4 separate regions of the Homo sapiens genome follow, and all the other regions are linked to region 3. Evidence: promoter capture Hi-C in 16 types of primary human blood cells and fetal thymus (Javierre and others, 2016). All regions are on one chromosome and are shown on one strand. The core of a region is centred on a gene start or on the middle of the fragment in contact, and the rest is flanking DNA. Distances in the headings are between cores, read along the strand shown. Region 1 overlaps RB1CC1 (RB1 inducible coiled-coil 1). Region 2 overlaps PCMTD1 (protein-L-isoaspartate (D-aspartate) O-methyltransferase domain containing 1). Region 3 holds the start of TMEM68 (transmembrane protein 68). Region 4 holds the start of RAB2A (RAB2A, member RAS oncogene family).

Region 1 (4,043 bases), core at 771-3,270, 3.1 Mb before region 3:
TCCGCCTCCCAGGTTCAAGAGATTCTCCTTTGGGAGGCCGAGGCAGGCGGATCATGAGGTCAGGAGATTGAGACCATCCTGGCTAACACAGTGAAACCCCGTCTCTACTAAAAATACAAAAAATTAGCCGGGCGTGGTGGCAGGCACCTGTAGTCCCAGCTACTCGGGAGGCTGAGGCAGGAGAATGGCGTGAACCCAGGAGGCGGAGCTTGCAGTAAGCCGAGATCTCGCCACTGCACTCTAGCCTGGGCTACAGAACGAGACTCCCTCTGTTTCAAAAAAAAAAAAAAAAGAGAGAGAGAGATTCTCTCTCCTCAGCCTCCAGAGTAGCTGGGATTATAGGCACCCACCACCACACCCAGCTAATTTTTTTTGTATTTTTAGTAGAGACAGGGTTTCGCCATGCTGGCCAGGCTGGTCTCAAACTCCTGACCCCAAGTGATCTGTCTGCCTCAGCCTCCCAAAGTTCTGGGAATACAGGCATGAGTCACCACGCCCCAATTGTTATCTTTATGTAAACATAAGAGGGAGAACAGAACTGTGAAAAGAACATGAGATTTGGAATCAAAAGAAGTATATTCAAGTCCTGGCCCAATGTGACCTGAACTGACTTCACCTAACAAGTTTTTTCATTTGATTACAAAAAGTAAAAGTACCTGTCTCACAGGGTTGTGGTCAGGATCTAACGAATAATCTATACATATATGGAAGTTATGTAAACCATAAAGTGAAATACAAACATCAATTACTGTTATTAACTAATCCAGATCTCTGTTCTGAGTTTAGAGCTAGCAGTAACTGATGCTTCATATTTCCAGCTGGAAATCCTACTGTTACCTCAAACTCAACATGTCCAAATTTAAATTCGGTGCTTTTCCTTTAAATCTATTCCCTAATTTATTCACTGTCAATGAACTATCATTCTACTATTGCCCCAAACTTCAGTTATTTTTCTTTTCTTTTTCTTTCTTTCTTTTTTTTTTTTTTTTTTTACAAACTTTCCAAAGTGACAATGGACCAGGCTTCAGTTATTTCTGTCCAAGTCCTACCCATTTTTTTCCTTTCTAATCCAACCCCTCATTTTCCAATGACATAACCCTTACTTAGGAAACTGCAACCTCTTCTCTCTGTCTTTAAATCTCTATCCGGCTTCAATCCTTCCTAAATACTCCCTACCAGTTACAACCAAGGTAGTCAGGCTGCTTCCCTCAAGTATCTTCCCTAGCACCTTACTGTTGCCTACAGCAGGGCACAAATCTGTAGTTTCTTTACAGCTACACTCTCTTTGTCACCTCCGGTTCAGTACTCAGACAGTTTCACTTAATTGTACTATCTGCCCACCCCTCTTAGCATGTGAATTTGCCAACTTGATATAGGCTAGATTAACATAAAAATGGCAGACTTAGGAACAAAATTTACTTGTATTTGAATACCATCTATCTCACTGAGGCTCAGGTAACCTCCACATATCAGTTGACAATCTATAAATTGCAACGATACCTTTCACAGAGATGAGAAGGATAGCAATAATGTACTTCAGAGTCCTTTACGGTGCTAGGAATATACTAAAAGCTTTAAAAATGGTGGCAATTATGACTTTAATTAAACTCCAGCACTCAAGAACTTCATAATTAACCCCAGTTTATTTTTGTAGCAGTATCATCAACTACTCCCTTACATGACAAACCTATACCCTCACTTTACATACTCCTGCCAGGTAAAATACCCCCATCTTTGCTGATCTGAATTTTACTCATCTTTAAAAGTCAAAGTATTGCCGGGCACACTGGCTCACGCCTGTAATCCCAGCACTTTGGGAGGCTGAGGCGGGTGGATCACAAGGTAAGGAGATCGAGACCATCCTGGCTAACACAGTGAAACCCCGTCTCTGCTAAAAATACAAAAAAATTAGCCGGGCATGGTGGCGGATGCCTGTAGTCCCAGCTGCTTGGGAGGCTGAGGTGGGAGAATGGCGTGAACCCAGGAGGCGGAGCTTGCAGTAAGTTGAGATCACACCACTGCACTCCAGCCTGGGCAACAGAGCGAGACTCGTCTCAAAAACAAACAAACAAACAAACAAACAAAAGTCCAAGTATTGTCCTATTACCACTTCTGGGAAGTCTTCCCTTATCACAGGTGGCCTATAGTATTCTTTCTCCTTTCTCTGAATTTACAGAACTCTTAAGTAGTTAATATAAGGTAGCAGGAATTCTCTTATCTGGGGGGAAAAACCTATCTCTCATTATGAGGACATCTGGTCCTCCTAAATCCTCCTAGGATACAGTCAGCTATAAATGAAGGGGAGAAGAGAGCTGTATTTTAAAAAATATTGATCCGACAGGGTGGTGGACATTATCTCCATTGATGCGGTAGTAGCCCGTGACCCCTCAATGAGGGAGAATTGCTAATAACTGCAGTTTACAGAACTAGGGATCAGGCAAAATTATTTCTAATCATCTTTTCTCTCTGAAGCTTTTAGTCCACTTTATATGCCACCCAGCACTTTGGGAGGCAGAGGCGGACAGATCACCTGAGGTCGCGAGTTTGAGACCAGCCTGACCAACATGGATAAACCCCATTTCTACTAAAAACACAAAATTATCTGAGTGTGGTAGCACATGCCTGTAATCCCAGCTACTCAGGAGGCTGAGGCAGGAGACTCGCTTGAACCCGGGAGTCAGAGGTTGCGGTCAGCTGAGATCATGCCATTGCACTCCAGCCTGGGCAACAAGAGTGAAACTCCATCTCAAAAAAATAAATAAAAATAAAAATATATTGATCCCACTGCATTTGTTTCCAGATGTACAGGAATAACAACTGAACCCATATATATCCATATTTGAGGAAAAGAACCAGAAAGTATCTCACATACTCATTAAAATCTATCCAACTTATCAAGTGGAGATTTACAATTTTCTCGAGAGATTATCATGATGATAAAGTCAATTATCCCAGCCTTACTGTCAACTATTCTAATACAGTCAAAACTTAGAATTAGGCCAGACACAGTGGCTCCTGCCTGTAATCCCAGCACTTTGGGAGGCCGAGGTGGGTGGCTCACTTCAGGCCAGGAGTTCAAGACCAGCCTGGGAAACATGGTGAAACCCCGTCTCTACTAAGAATACAAGAATTAGTTGGCAGTGGTAGTGCATGCCTGTAATCCCACCTACTGGGAGGCTGAAGTGGGAGGATCATCTGAGCCCACGAGGCAGTGGTTGTAGTGAGCCTAGATCACACCATTGCCTGTCGCCTGCCTGGGCGACAAAGTAAGACTCTGCCTTAAAAAACAAAAACAAACAAACAAAACAGAATTCGCTTCCTTATATGATAAGGTGAAAGGGGGACACCCCAATGACAATCTCTGACCTTCAAAACTGGACACATTCATTATTCATCCACTATTTTGGGGGCATCTAAACATAAGCCAGACACTGCTAGGTGCCTGGAATACAAATATCTTCAAGATGCTTTCCAGCTGAATAGAACACATGAGACTCAGATAACCCTAAAGTGGACTAAAAGCTTCAGAGAAAAGATGATTGGAAATAATTTTGCCTGATCTCTAATTCTGTAAACTGCAATTATTAGCAATTCTCCCTCATTGAGGGGTCACGGGCTACTGCATCAATGGAGATAATGTCCACCACAAACGGAGTGTCTAGGTTGCCCAGGGACTGAAAACTGGGCATCAGTCTCCCCAAATCAGATGTATTCTAATCTGATCCTACCCCTTCTCTGCCAAGAAAAAGAATGAAAGATGAGTAGGTCAGGCATTTTCCTCACATTTCCCTGAAAGAAAACCTTTTTCATAAAAGTTCAGACTTCCTAAATATACGCCTTGTCTACAAACTAGACAAGCAACTTCGCCAAAAGAATGAAGCGAGCATTTAGAAAGGTAGTGCCCAAAGACAGCAAATGAGGTAAAAATAGCAGAACAGGAATACTTTTAAAACAAAAATGAAAAATACTTTGGAGTACACCCTTCAGGTTTTTTTCCCTAGGTGTACAGGAAATATGTGTATATTCAGGCAATATGGTTTTAT
Region 2 (4,257 bases), core at 870-3,369, 3.9 Mb before region 3:
CTGATAGTTCTGGAGGTCAGAAGTCTGACACAGGCTTCATGATACAAGTCTCACTGGGTTAAGATCAAGGTGTTGGGGAGACTGTTCCTTTCTGAAGGTTCTTTAGGAGAAATCTGTTCCCTCGCATCAGTGTCTAGTGTCCATCTGCTTTTTTTTTTTCTCTCTTGCCTCATGGCCCTTTCTTTCTTCCATCTGCAAAGCAAGAAACATGACGCTGATTCCTTTTCTGCTGTCTCTCTGGTTCTCTCGCTCTGCCTCCTCCTTCCATTTTTAAGGACCCTTATGATTACACTGGGCTTATCGGGATAATCCAGGATAATCTTCCTATCTTAAACTGATTAGCAACTTTAATTCATCTGCAACCTTAATTCCCCTTTGCCATATAAGGTCACATATTCGCAGGTTCCAGGGATTAGAACATGGACCTCTTTGGGGGGCTACTATTTGCCTAGCACACTACCCAAACTTTGACTCCTACTCTTCAGGGTAATGCTGTTCCATAGAGAATCAGATACAATCCATCTTAAAATGTATACCGGCAGCCCAAATCCATCCCTTCTCCCATTTCTCATCCAGCATACAGGTGAAGAAACAATATGGCAGAAAGGATCAGCAGAAGAAATATGCTTATTATTACTTGACAGACTTGGAATTTATTTTCTCTTACAGGTAAATAACGCAAGGTTATATTCTTAAGATAGTCTAAAATCCTCTAACTAAAGCAATAACTATGTATAAACTAACTGAACACCCTGAAACTCAATTTTAAGTAGCAACTAGAAACTGCAAAAAAACAAAACTATCAATCATTTGGTATGGTAATTATCAAGCCATGCAATCATTTTCCTCGTTTAAAATAAATTAAAAAAAAAAAAGAGTACGCTCAGTCCCAATATTTGAGAACAGTTTCACAAAAAAGTTTTCATAATTTCTTTTTTTTTTTTTTTGAGACAGAGTCTTGCTCTGTCACCAGGCTGGAGTGCAGTGGCACGATCTCAGCTCACTGCAACCTCTGCCTCCCGGGTTCAAGCGATTCTCCTGCCTCAGCCTCTCAAGTAGCTGGGATTACAGGCACGTGCCAACCACACTCAGCTAATTTTTTTGTATTTTTAGTAGAGACGGAGTTTCACCATGTTGGCCAGGATGGTCTCAATCTCTTGACCTCGTGATCCGCCCACCTCGGCCTCCAAAAGTGCTGGGATTACAGGCATGAGCCACCGTGCCCGGCCAAGTTTTCATAATTTCTAATATCTTACTCTATTAGAAGAAACTGTGCCTAAATATAAACTTCAAGTTTAAAACTGTTTAGAGTTCATTCCTAACTCCTGACCTTACTTTTAGGGTAGTAGAAAGCTACCATATAGATTCATTCTGAGTGCTTACAGAAGTTCAGTTCAATAGAGTAAGACCCTGTATATGATGGTCCATACCTTTCCTTAGCTGTTGACATCCAACAGGATATAGTAGCAGATTCAAAATTGTCAATTCAATGCAGGAGGATTCCAGGTTGGCCTCAAGAGGGAGCATCCTTTTAAAAATAGATTCCCCTTCAGGTAAATGACTTTTGTGTATCACAAAAAAATGAATGGGAAGATACACTAGATAACAAAATATTAAGACATTTAGGAGCAGGACCTGATTTTCGTAATGCTCCCACAGTAGAAGGCACTAAAGGGTATGAAAACAAACAAGCAGGCCCTGACCTTTATAAATAAGCTTTGGGTTAACAATGAGAAAGAGACCCAGAATCAAATATATGCATGAAAGTCTGAACTCATAGCCTTTATTTTACCATTGGCCATTAACCTTTCTATGACCTACTTAGTTTTAAGAATCAAATGAAATAATGTGCACATTCAAATTTAGTCATTTTTATCTAGCACCGAGTAAAACAAATTAATGTTACTGGTAACTGAAAAATACTCCTTTAAGTTGCAAAGATTAAAAACAAAGTAATGAAAGTCTTTATATAGTGTATTAGTTCTACAGTCTTAGCAAATTATCCCGCATAACTCAACCATTTCTTAGTGGCTGAGGGTCATTATGAGGAACAGTATGATAATGGTATGTCACGAGCACCTCAGAGACCAACACACACAGTAAAAGCATTCCACCATCTGGAACTGCTTTGCTCTCTCACTGCAGTAACTTCTCGTTTCTTTTTTGTGTGACTAGATGATTCAAATCTGCTTTATTTTACACACAACTATGGTGGGTCTAGTGTGACTCCAAAGTCTGTCCCTGACTATATAGGACACATTCTCCTTGCTTTTCCTAGGCCTTTTGTTGTTATTGTTAACTCCTCACTCACTGCCTACAATATTGGTAAGAGAGCATGAGGTTATCAGTCCAAGTTTGGCCTCTACTTAAAACGGATATTGCTTCTAGGTTAGGTCCGTCACTTTCTATCAAGTGTTAACTGACCTCATAATCTCTGAAAAGTAGTATACGACTCACAAAATAATATATAACCTTTATTACTGATTATTAATGCAACTATCATTAATTGAGCACTTACAGCATAAAGCTTTGAGGTGTTTTAAGTATATTAACTCATTTAAGTCTTCATAAAATTTCATGTAACAGCATTATTTTTAGGGATGGGAAACGAAGGAAAGGGATTAAATAACTTCCTTAAGCTTTTACAGCTAGTAGGAGGCAAAACTGAGGTTGAGTTCTAGATCTATCTGACACCAAACCCTGTGTCCCTCAACACTGTTGATTGCTGAGTCTGGTATCATCATTTTATAGAAAATAAAGCAGACTGAGGAAACTGAAGTCATTCTGAGTCTTAGTTCATGCATCTATAAAATGGGAATAACAATACTTTCCTACCTCTTTGACAAGATGCAAAGTTATACGAAAATGTGAAAATGTGGAAAGTATCAAATTTAACAGGGTCTCATGCTGACTACACAATGCCAGGAAGCACTATTCCCACATAAAGTGTCAGTTTTCCTGAAGCAGTAAAGGGAATGTCATTTATATTAGATTCTATGTTAATAGTGTCTCCTGAGCTGTGCACCACAAATGGCCATATGTAAGGATATACGTGTGTGTGTGTGTGTGTGTGTGTGTGTACACACAAAAATATATATTAGTGTGAAGTGAATTAATTTTATTGTGCTGCCTAGATACAATAAAACCAGTGATAACTAAACAGTGATAACTGAACAAGTCCTTAACAAAAAAAAAAAAAAAAGCTTATATAAAGCCTTTTTGTCATAAATAATGAGGTAATTAAACTACTTTAAGTCCATGGTGATTACCTCCCTTTTCTTTAAAGCCAAATCAACTGCATGAATGGTTATATTCACAGATATTTATATAGATCATTGTAGAAATGCCTACATCTATTTCTAATTTCTCTGGTTCATAAAAGAATAAAGGTTCAAATTACTCTATTTACAGGGAAAAGTCAAGCCTATTAAAAACGGTTTAGATGTATTTAAAATAATTCTTTCACAATGGGATTTACAATGCCTGGTAAATCAGTATATATCACTGCTAGGCTTTTCCTTGAAACTAAAATTAGAGTGACTGCCTTTGCATGTTCCAAAATTTGTTCTTATCCAGTTGAGTATGAAGACTGACCAGAAAATTTAAAATCCGCTCTAGCCGCCAAGACACTACAATGAAAACATGAAAATTTAGAATACCGAGACTTACAGGAGTAACAGGGATAAACCATCCTTCTAAAACAAAGACTGTTTTGCATTTGCTTTTTGAGCTATGACATTTCTAAATAGTTCCTTCTACTCAAGGCCCAGTATTTTAAATATGGACTACAAAGATATAATGATACATAATCAGAACAAAACCTCTGCACTACTTACGCAGTAGCAGTGACAGAGAAGCACCGACTGATCCATCCACCAGCACACCTGTGGCTCCCATAACCAACAGCTAAACACCCATGTGCTTGGCAGTATAAATGTAGAAATCCCCTAATAACATTAAGTCAAGGCCTTAACACAACCTTGGTTACTTAAAACACCACTTCCTAGCACAGATGCATCCAGGTCAGAGAAAATGCAAGCACTCACATTTTCCATACTTCTATCACCAAATACATCTGCCACAGGATTACATGGCAGAAGGACTTACAAAGCTGGACATTTCTAGTGGTGTTTTCATTAACACAGAGGTCCCTCAGAATTAAAAACCATACGAGCCTCAGGTGATAACATCCCCGTTAACCTGTTTCTCCTTTTCTTTATCCATATTTTCTAGTCTTTCCACAATAAATTTCTACTG
Region 3 (4,084 bases), core at 1,247-3,746:
GCGGTGGCTCATGCCTGTAATCCCAGCACTTTGCGAAGCAGCGGCAGGAGGATCACCTGAGGTCGGGAGTTCGAGACCAGCCTGACCAATGTGGAGAAACCCTGTTTCTACAAAAAATACAAAATTATCCAGGTGTGGTGGCGCATGCCTGTAAACCCAGCTACTCAGGAGGCTGAGGCAGAAAATCGCTTGAACCCAGGAGGCGGAAGTTGCGGTGAGCCAAGATCGCACCATTGCACTCCAGCCTAGGCAACAAAAATGAATCTCCGTCTCCAAAAAAAAAAAAAAGTTGACAAGCTCAAATATCACCATATTGACATTGATGGTGAGGATATGGACCTTACAGATGTTTAAAATCAGAGTATTTCAAAAACTAATAAATCAGAACAGAGAACTTTTTGGCTTTCAATAAAACCTTAAGAAAGTGTATCTATTTTAGGCTGGGCTCAGTGGCTCATGCCTATAATCCTAACACTTTGGGAGGCTGAGGCAGGCAAATCACTTGAACCCAAGAATTCAAGACCAGTCTGGGCAATATGGCAAAACCTTGTCTCTACAAAACACACACACACACACACACACACAAAATTAGGCAGGCATGGTGGCATGCCTGTAGCCCCAGCTACTCGGGGGGCTGAGGTAGGAGGATTGCTTGAGCCTGGGAGGTAGAGGTTGCTGTGAGCCGCGATCGCGCCACTACACTACAGCCTGGGTGACAGAGCAAGATCCTGTCTCAAAAAAAATAAATAAATAAATAAATAAAGTATATCTATTTTGAACACCCATTACCAGTACTTTTCCATTTTACTTTTAGTATATAAGTCACATTGAGAACATTCTGAAAATGCCAATTAAAAGATATAGTCACTGAAAAACAAGTTTTCCTGTTTCCTTTCTGCATATTTAATAATGGTTTAACAGAGATACAGCACTGTTTTACTGAATAGGACTTCTACTTCAAACCATGAATAAAGCTGCAATTTAGTATTTGTCAAGATAGCTGGTAAATCTAATCCTTTTAGCTTTAATACTTTTTTTATTTCAAGCTTTAAACTCGAGGTTCTGATACAAATTACCCTTCAAGACTTTTCTTTAATCCTAGAATGCCCAACTTCTAGCTAAAATCTTCCACTCTGTTTCATAATTACTGTTCTACCCTTATTATCGTAACCCAGCTACTCATCCCAATAATGCTGCACATCTATACTGGTATATCTGTAACCGTGCAGCACTCTTACCTTCTTGAACCAACAAAATCAGCCTATCTCCGACCTCAAAGTAGGGCAGCAGTAAGGAGGTGGGAATAAACATTTGAAAATGAATATTTCCACTAACTAGTAAATGTGGCCAAAATACTATTGAAAATACCATTCAAAATGCATGAATTTTAGCTCAGTTTTTATATAGTTCTGAAGAAGTACCAATACTATTTTGGCATTTCGTAGCACCAACCACGTCCGAAGCGCTCCAACTTTCAAGTCTGAGCTTGTCTCTGAAGAAGTTGCCCGTGCAGCCTCCATGAATACCACACACCAAATACTAACTGCTTTTTAACAGATCCAGCAACGCTGCTGTTTCCATTTTCTCCATCCTATTTATGCCCACATGAACTTTTTTCTTATTAGATAATTAGTAACTTGAAGGCAGAGACCTGTTTTACAGGCTGCAAACCCCAGGGACCGAGACAGCACTTAACGCCTACAAGGTCCAAACCGACGCCAACGATTAAGCGCACAAAGGAAAGGTGTAATATACATCATTTCGTTTAGTCCTCCCTGCAGCCTCATGTAGTAGTTACTATTAATCAACCCCATTTCACAGGTGATCAAAGGTAAGCTCAGAAAGGTGAAGTTGCCTGCCCAGGTCACAAGGTAGGACCAGGATTCCAAGCCTGATCGGTCTGGATACGAACGCTCTACCCACGCGGCTTTCCCCCTACACTCTCGGGATCACCACACACTTCCCCTTGGCTTTTACACCGGAGGCTCGACCTGGGTCCCGGAACCAGCGAAGCCACTGGGCAAGCCTAGAGGCCTCTACAGAGGCTAGAGACGCCTCGCCCCACCAGATGCATTAGGATGAAACGCGCCGAACCGAAGGTTTAGAGCGCCAGGGGAGAAGAGGGGCGGGGAGAGCAGGCTCTTTGACCCAGAGGAGGGAGGATCTCCACACCCGGCCACTCTGGCGCTGGGGCGCAACACTGAGGCCGGCGGGAAGCCGAGCCTGCCCGCGAAGAGACTGGGGATTCCGAGGCGGCTCCTGGGAGACCGGACGCGCGCGGCCTCCGCCGCTCCCAGTCCCGCCAGACCCGATGCCGGGCTGGAGAAGCGCGGGGGCCGACGCACCTCGGATAGGCGGGGGCAGGGGCAGGGGCAGCTCTCCTTTACCCTAGAGCGGCGACAGAAGCTCTTCGGGGGATCAGTGGCCAAGGGGGCGGACAGATTTGCACGGCGGATTCCTCCGAAGCAACCCGTGTGAAAGAAGCCAAGCGGCGGCTGCAGCCCGGGCCGCGATGGGGGTGACACCGCCCGTGGTCCCGCCCCTTCCCGTGGCCCCTCGGAGCCACTTCCGGCGGCAGCGTCCGGGCTAGTTCCCGGCGCGAGCGGCCGCGGGCCAGTTTCTATCTCCTCATCCAGGGCTTGCGGGCGAGGCCTGTTTTAAGTCTCCAGTAACCGAGCGGAGGCCCGGCAGGCGCGACCCGGGCTGCGTACGTCAGAGCTGCCTCCGAAGTGGTAAAATGTGCTGCGAGAAGTGGAGCCGCGTGGCGGAAATGTTTCTCTTCATTGAGGAGCGGGAGGATTGTAAGATACTGTGCCTTTGCTCCAGGGCATTTGTGGAGTAAGTAGAAAAGAGAATCTCTTCATGTTCTAGCACAGTCATTACCCAGAAATGTAGGTATTGCAAACGTGGTTGTAATTGATCCCTGAAAGCAGCCAGAACATCTGACCCTTGGGCACGGTGATGTTTAAGAAAAACAAAACCCTCAGACATGACGGAGTGGTCGCCCACTGCCATTATTTTTATGTGAAGGACTACATCTACTTGGTAGGCTGCTATGAAAAAATGTCGTAGGTGCTATATGTCATCTCATATTTGTAAATCGAGGGGACATTTAAAAATTGGGGGAAAGCGACATGTAAAATGAAATCTCTAGTAGATATGATGTCATAAAGTGAAAGTTTAAAGTTGAGTGACTTGCTTTGGTTAACGTCTTTTTTTAAACCTAAAAATCTACTTAAGCCCAAATGCACATAATTAAAACTTCAAACTAGTTGAGATAAAAGACTTAACCATATTTACATCAGTTTTTGTGATATCTTTATTTTGGGGAAATCTTTGAATCAGGTAAAAATTGCCCCACATGAAAAATAGCTAGTATGCAGGAATAATACCGCCAAGAGACTTGAATTCTAGGAATTGTTTCCTTTATATTAAATGCGTGAGTTAAACCACTTGAACCTTTTTTTCATCTCTATAACGGGTATATTTAATCTCACATGCTTATTTTGTTAGAGTTAAATCCTTGTGGAAGTGAATTTTATGTGATAGACTTTTAATATAGTTTAATATAGTAGGATTTAAGTTTGAAGGAATTCATTTTTCTCGTGTAATTTTGTGGAGTAATTTGAAAACGCAAAAAGAAGTTAAACTTGTTAAATTTAATGTAAAAAGTATTGTCGCCTTTTTAGTCAGGCATGCATGTAGTCATACAATCATTCAGAAAATGTTTTTTGTGCTCTTGTATATCAAGTATGCTGGTAGGCACTGAGGTACAAGACATTCTGTCCTTACATGTATTGAGTTTACTTCCTAGCAGAGAAGATCAATATTAAGATAACTGGTTACATTATTACTTGGTTGATTATAGTTATAAGTGCTATGAGAGAGAAGTGCAGGATGCTGTGAAAACAAATAACTTTCCAAGGGTCACAGAGGTTTCTTTGAGGAAGTAGCTTTTGGAAAGAGGTCTAAGGGGGATAAATTGGGGTGAGTTTCAGTGGGAGAAAGCGTTCTCTGCAGGCTGAACTCAGTAAAGGCCTTGAGGGAGCAAAAGAAAGCCTGGGAAACTGAACAAAATGGCTGG
Region 4 (4,095 bases), core at 1,470-3,969, 4.7 Mb after region 3:
ACAATATGCATTTGACATCTATGGCCCCTGCATTTTCACGAGAGGATTACTACCTTCTTTACAGATGGCTTTAGATTTGGAGGCTGGCTAAGCATAAAATTAAAAGACGTCATGCTTGGAATAGCCCTTTTAAGAAACACTTAACTCCTTTACTTAATAGACAAGTGCACTGAACCACTCATAATTTTTTAAATTATTTTTATTTTAATAATTATTTTATTTATTAAGACACAAGGTCTCAATCTATAGCCCAAGCTGGAGTGCAGTCGCACCATCCTAGCTCACTGCTGCCTCAAACTGCTTGGCTCAAGCTATCCTCCCTCTTCAGCCTCCCAAGTAGCTGGGACCGCAGGCACAAGCCATCGCAACCTGTGCTCTGAAGCTTTAAGAGGCCAAACGATTCCTCACATTCATCCGATCAGTTACAGGTAGAGCCAAGACCAGAAGCCAGGTATCCTATTTTCCTTATAACACATTGCCTCTATAGCTTTATATCCATTTCTATGATTTTTGTTACATACCCAGTTCTGACCATTTCCTGTCACAATTTCCTTTGTCTACTAAGTAAAGTTCTAAATGCATGGTGACATAACATACAAGGCCCTACATAACCTGGCACAAGAGACCTCTCCAGGTACTCTCCTCCTCTAACAGTGTAGGAATACTCCTGACTCCTAGGATGCCAGGCATTTGTATAACATCCTAATAGAGTTGTGCTGGTGAAGGAAGGCCACATCCCTCTATCTTGTGAGAGTGAAGACTTGAGTTTCTCCATCACCAAGGAAGACTTGGGTGAAGGCACTCAAGTGGGAGGGACAAAATGACATCTGAAAACTGGAGGCCTTGGGCAGGGACCTCCCCTTCCTCAAACTAAAGGTGAATGAACCAAATTTTGCGATTCCAGGTAGCTTTTCATGTCAAATTTTCATGTCAAATTCTTCCGTGCCATCTCTGACCCTTTAGTAAAATCCCCTCCAAATATTCCAGAAAAACCTTGTGAGTTCATATTTGGCAAGGCCATCCAAAGCATGTTAGCAACCCAGCATGATGGTGTCAGTACTAATTACATAATGAGAGGCCCCAAAGAGAAGAGTATTAGGCAACAGGAACGAGGGCCACTAAATCCCAATCGCTTTTCCCCAGCAATGATTCTCCTTCAATATGAGGTTATGGGTTATGAGGATATGAGTTAGTCAATTAGCTTCCTTATGCAACTTCAAATTCCCTGAACAGATCCAGGAATTTTGCACATTCTGTTCCTTGTCCATAAACTTTGGTTCCCCTCCCCAAACTGTTGTTCTTTCGACAAACTCTATACATAATTCATATTCCTGGCTCAGAAATCATAATCTCTAAGTAACCTTTCCTGACACCCTATTCTCCACCTCCTCTTCCATAACCTGTGGTCTTTTTGAACAGAGTGGTGACATTTTGGGCTGGATGACTGAAAAAGCAAAGTAGAAAAACAGAACATAGAACATACAGGGCCTCCAGTTGCTGTGCCTGGCGGTACATGAAACATAGTATTCAATAACTATTCTTTGAATGCACAGTCATTTTGTTTTTTCCTTTAACAGTATTTCCTAATAGGTAACTCATGAACACTGCAAAAAATGTCAAACTGCACAAAAAAATTCAGGGAAAAGTACATTTTCCCCCCAATCCCATTCCCTCCTTTCTCTTAATACCAGTTAGCTTTCCTTTCAGATTGATTATGCATATATGGGTATGTAAATGTTTTCCCACTATTTGTTACACATAAAAATTATATACAATTCATATATTACATATGGTGCATGTTATATACACACACATAAACAGATCATCTCGGTTTTGCTTAACCTAAGTCAGGCTTTTTTTTTTTTTTTTTTTTTAGAGCAGCCCTCAGAACCAGGACAGGTTCAGAGACTTTATTTATTTTTTATTTACTATTATTATTTTGAGACGGAGTCCCGCTCTGTCGCCCAGTCTGGAGTGCCGTGGTTCAATCTCGGCTCACTACAACCTCCACCTCCCAGGTTCAAGTGATTCTCCTGCCTTAGACTCCGAGTAGCTGGGATTACAGGCGAGCACCACCACGCCCGGCTAATGTATTTTTAGTAGAGACGCGGTTTCGCCATGTTGGCCAGGCTGGTCTCGAACTCCTGACCTCAGGTGAGAGCAACGTAGTACTCCACTGTGCGTGCATACCATGATTTACTTTGCAGTCCCAGATTTACGGTTTCCAATTTATAAATACTGCCATTTTCACCTTCAAGCCCCGATGCCAAACACAGAAATACCAGGCCACCCCCACCCCCTCGCCGTGTGCCTCCCACATTTTCACACACATTTTCAGGAGCCCAGGGCGCAGCCTCACACCGAACGCCGCCTCTGCCGTCCCCTCACTTGCCCCGTGCCCCCACCGCAGGGCTGAAGGCGACGGAACCGAGCCTTTGTACCCCCACCAGCCCCGTTCCCTGGCGTCTCCCGGCCGCCGGGCTCGCCCGCTCAAACGTGGCGGAACAACCGGAGCCGGGCCCCGCCCTGCTGGAAGACAGGGCGGACCGGGCAAGGCAGGCGCGGGGCGGGGCGGGGCGGGGCTCCGGCTGGCGGGGCGCGGCCAGCGTGCAGGGCTGGGCCAGCGTGCGGGGCTCCTCCCCTTTCCTCCGGCGGCGCCGGCGGCCGCAGAACTTCCGGGTCGGCGCGGAGGCGGGGCGGAGGCGCCGCGGCGGCTGTTATTGTTCGGCTGGGCTCGGTCGGGCGCTGTCTCCCTCGGCTCTGCGGGTGTCAGTTCGTCCGGCTTCCTCACAGCCCCTCACTCCCGGCGGCTGACAGCAGCAGCGGCGGCGGCGGGCGGCGCCTGGCGTTTCGAGGCTGAGCGGCACCGGGGTTGGGGCGCGGAGGAGGAGCAGCAGCGGGAGGAGGAGCCGTGTGCCCTGGCACTGAGCGGCCGCGGCCATGGCGTACGCCTATCTCTTCAAGTACATCATAATCGGCGACACAGGTGAGGGCCCCGGGCGCGGCCGGGCGGGTGTCGGCGGCCTCCGGACCCGGGCTGAGGGGCAAACGGCGTCTGGCGGTGGCGGGGACGCGGACTCCACCCGGCGCCTCCCTCCTGGCCGCGCCGCTCCATTTCCGCAGTGCTGGAGCTGGTGACGTGGGCACTGCGAGCGGCCGCGGCCTGGCCAGGCCCGGTCTGCGGCCCCCGACCCGGCCAGTCTTGCAGCTGAGGGCCGTGGCAGCCGTTTGCGACGCCCGATTCAGGAAGTGTGTGACAGGAGGGGAGGCCTAGCGCAGGGCCGCCGGGGCCCGACTCACATGACTGCACCCCACCCCCAGGGCCCCTTGCGTTAGGTCTCTTCGCGGCCCCAGGAAAAAGAAGGAGGGAAACCTAGGGGAGCAGAAGGTGTTGGGGCCCGGGTCTTGGTTCCTGACCAGTCCAACCTTCCTCCACCAGCACGCATCTATCAAGGCCTGGGCAAGGCGCTTTTTGGCGTGGGACAGGCAGCCGAGAAAGAGAAAAGGAAACCTTTAAAATATGTATTTTATATATATACATATATATAAAATATGCTTTTTTAACACCTTCAACTCTCACGTCAGAATAAGTCACATCTCATTACTTGACGGCTGGAGAATCCCTTTCGGGGTTAGGAAAGCATGAACGAGTTCTGTGGACTTTTGCCACGTGTGAACTGGGGTTATATAGTAATGTAAAGTCGTTCAGTGCTCTGGGTGTGTACTTAGGTATGTGTATGTTGAGGACGCTGATGTTTTAGATATGTCAAGTCCGGTGTCACAACTGCTAATTTTCAGGTGAGCTCATGTCCATGAGCTGAAAGAAATTCAGTTATTCTCACTTAAAATGACGTCCTAGTATATTTCACAGAAAAGTAAACAGACTCTTCGTAGATATTTTTAATACCTGTGATTTGGCATTACTTTGAATCTAATAATAAACATAAAGATTGTTTAGATGTTGCAACTATTAATATACCAGAGTCTGATTTCAGTGGTTACTCTTGCACAACTTTGGACCCTTTGCACAACTTCGGTCATGTAAGCAGCAGTTTGTAGTTGAACTAATGATGTGGCAGGTTCTATAAGTAACTA

The links. The method cuts DNA at HindIII sites, captures the fragments that hold promoters and counts their contacts. A CHiCAGO score of 5 or more calls a contact.
Region 1: a contact is called between a fragment that was not itself captured here and the fragment with the promoter of TMEM68 in region 3, in 1 of 17 cell types (total CD4 T cells). The highest score is 7.9, in total CD4 T cells.
Region 2: a fragment that was not itself captured here is called in contact with the fragment with the promoter of TMEM68 in region 3 in 1 of 17 cell types (non-activated CD4 T cells); the score reaches 6.0 in non-activated CD4 T cells.
Region 4: the fragment with the promoter of RAB2A here is called in contact with the fragment with the promoter of TMEM68 in region 3 in 1 of 17 cell types (non-activated CD4 T cells); the score reaches 6.0 in non-activated CD4 T cells.

What each region holds. Positions count from the first base shown.
Region 1 is chr8:52,706,460-52,710,502 of GRCh38, forward strand. All of the region lies in intron 1 of RB1CC1 (RB1 inducible coiled-coil 1), which reads right to left. Among named protein-coding and RNA genes, the nearest start is that of RB1CC1, 6.0 kb to the right of the region's middle. RefSeq lists silencers at 1,182-1,231, 1,242-1,401. The HindIII fragment of the contact is 900 bases long and covers 1,571-2,470 here.
Region 2 is chr8:51,886,814-51,891,070 of GRCh38, forward strand. All of the region lies in intron 1 of PCMTD1 (protein-L-isoaspartate (D-aspartate) O-methyltransferase domain containing 1), which reads right to left. Among named protein-coding and RNA genes, the nearest start is that of PCMTD1, 10 kb to the right of the region's middle. The HindIII fragment of the contact is 811 bases long and covers 1,715-2,525 here.
Region 3 is chr8:55,770,882-55,774,965 of GRCh38, forward strand. It overlaps TMEM68 (transmembrane protein 68), which reads right to left and starts at 2,497. Exons shown (of 8, transcript NM_001286657.2): 1 at 2,388-2,497. It overlaps TGS1 (trimethylguanosine synthase 1), which reads left to right and starts at 2,565. Exons shown (of 13, transcript NM_024831.8): 1 at 2,565-2,838. The coding sequence starts at 2,738. RefSeq lists enhancers at 1,399-1,902, 2,674-3,003 and silencers at 2,124-2,253, 2,344-2,533. The HindIII fragment of the contact is 10,724 bases long and covers 1,045-4,084 here.
Region 4 is chr8:60,514,268-60,518,362 of GRCh38, forward strand. RAB2A (RAB2A, member RAS oncogene family) reads left to right here and starts at 2,720. Exons shown (of 8, transcript NM_002865.3): 1 at 2,720-2,986. The coding sequence starts at 2,941. LOC124901949 (a long non-coding RNA gene) reads left to right here. Exons shown (of 3, transcript XR_007060922.1): 3 at 1-2,531. RefSeq lists enhancers at 1,868-2,728, 3,964-4,095 and a silencer at 2,304-3,173. The HindIII fragment of the contact is 4,226 bases long and covers 381-4,095 here.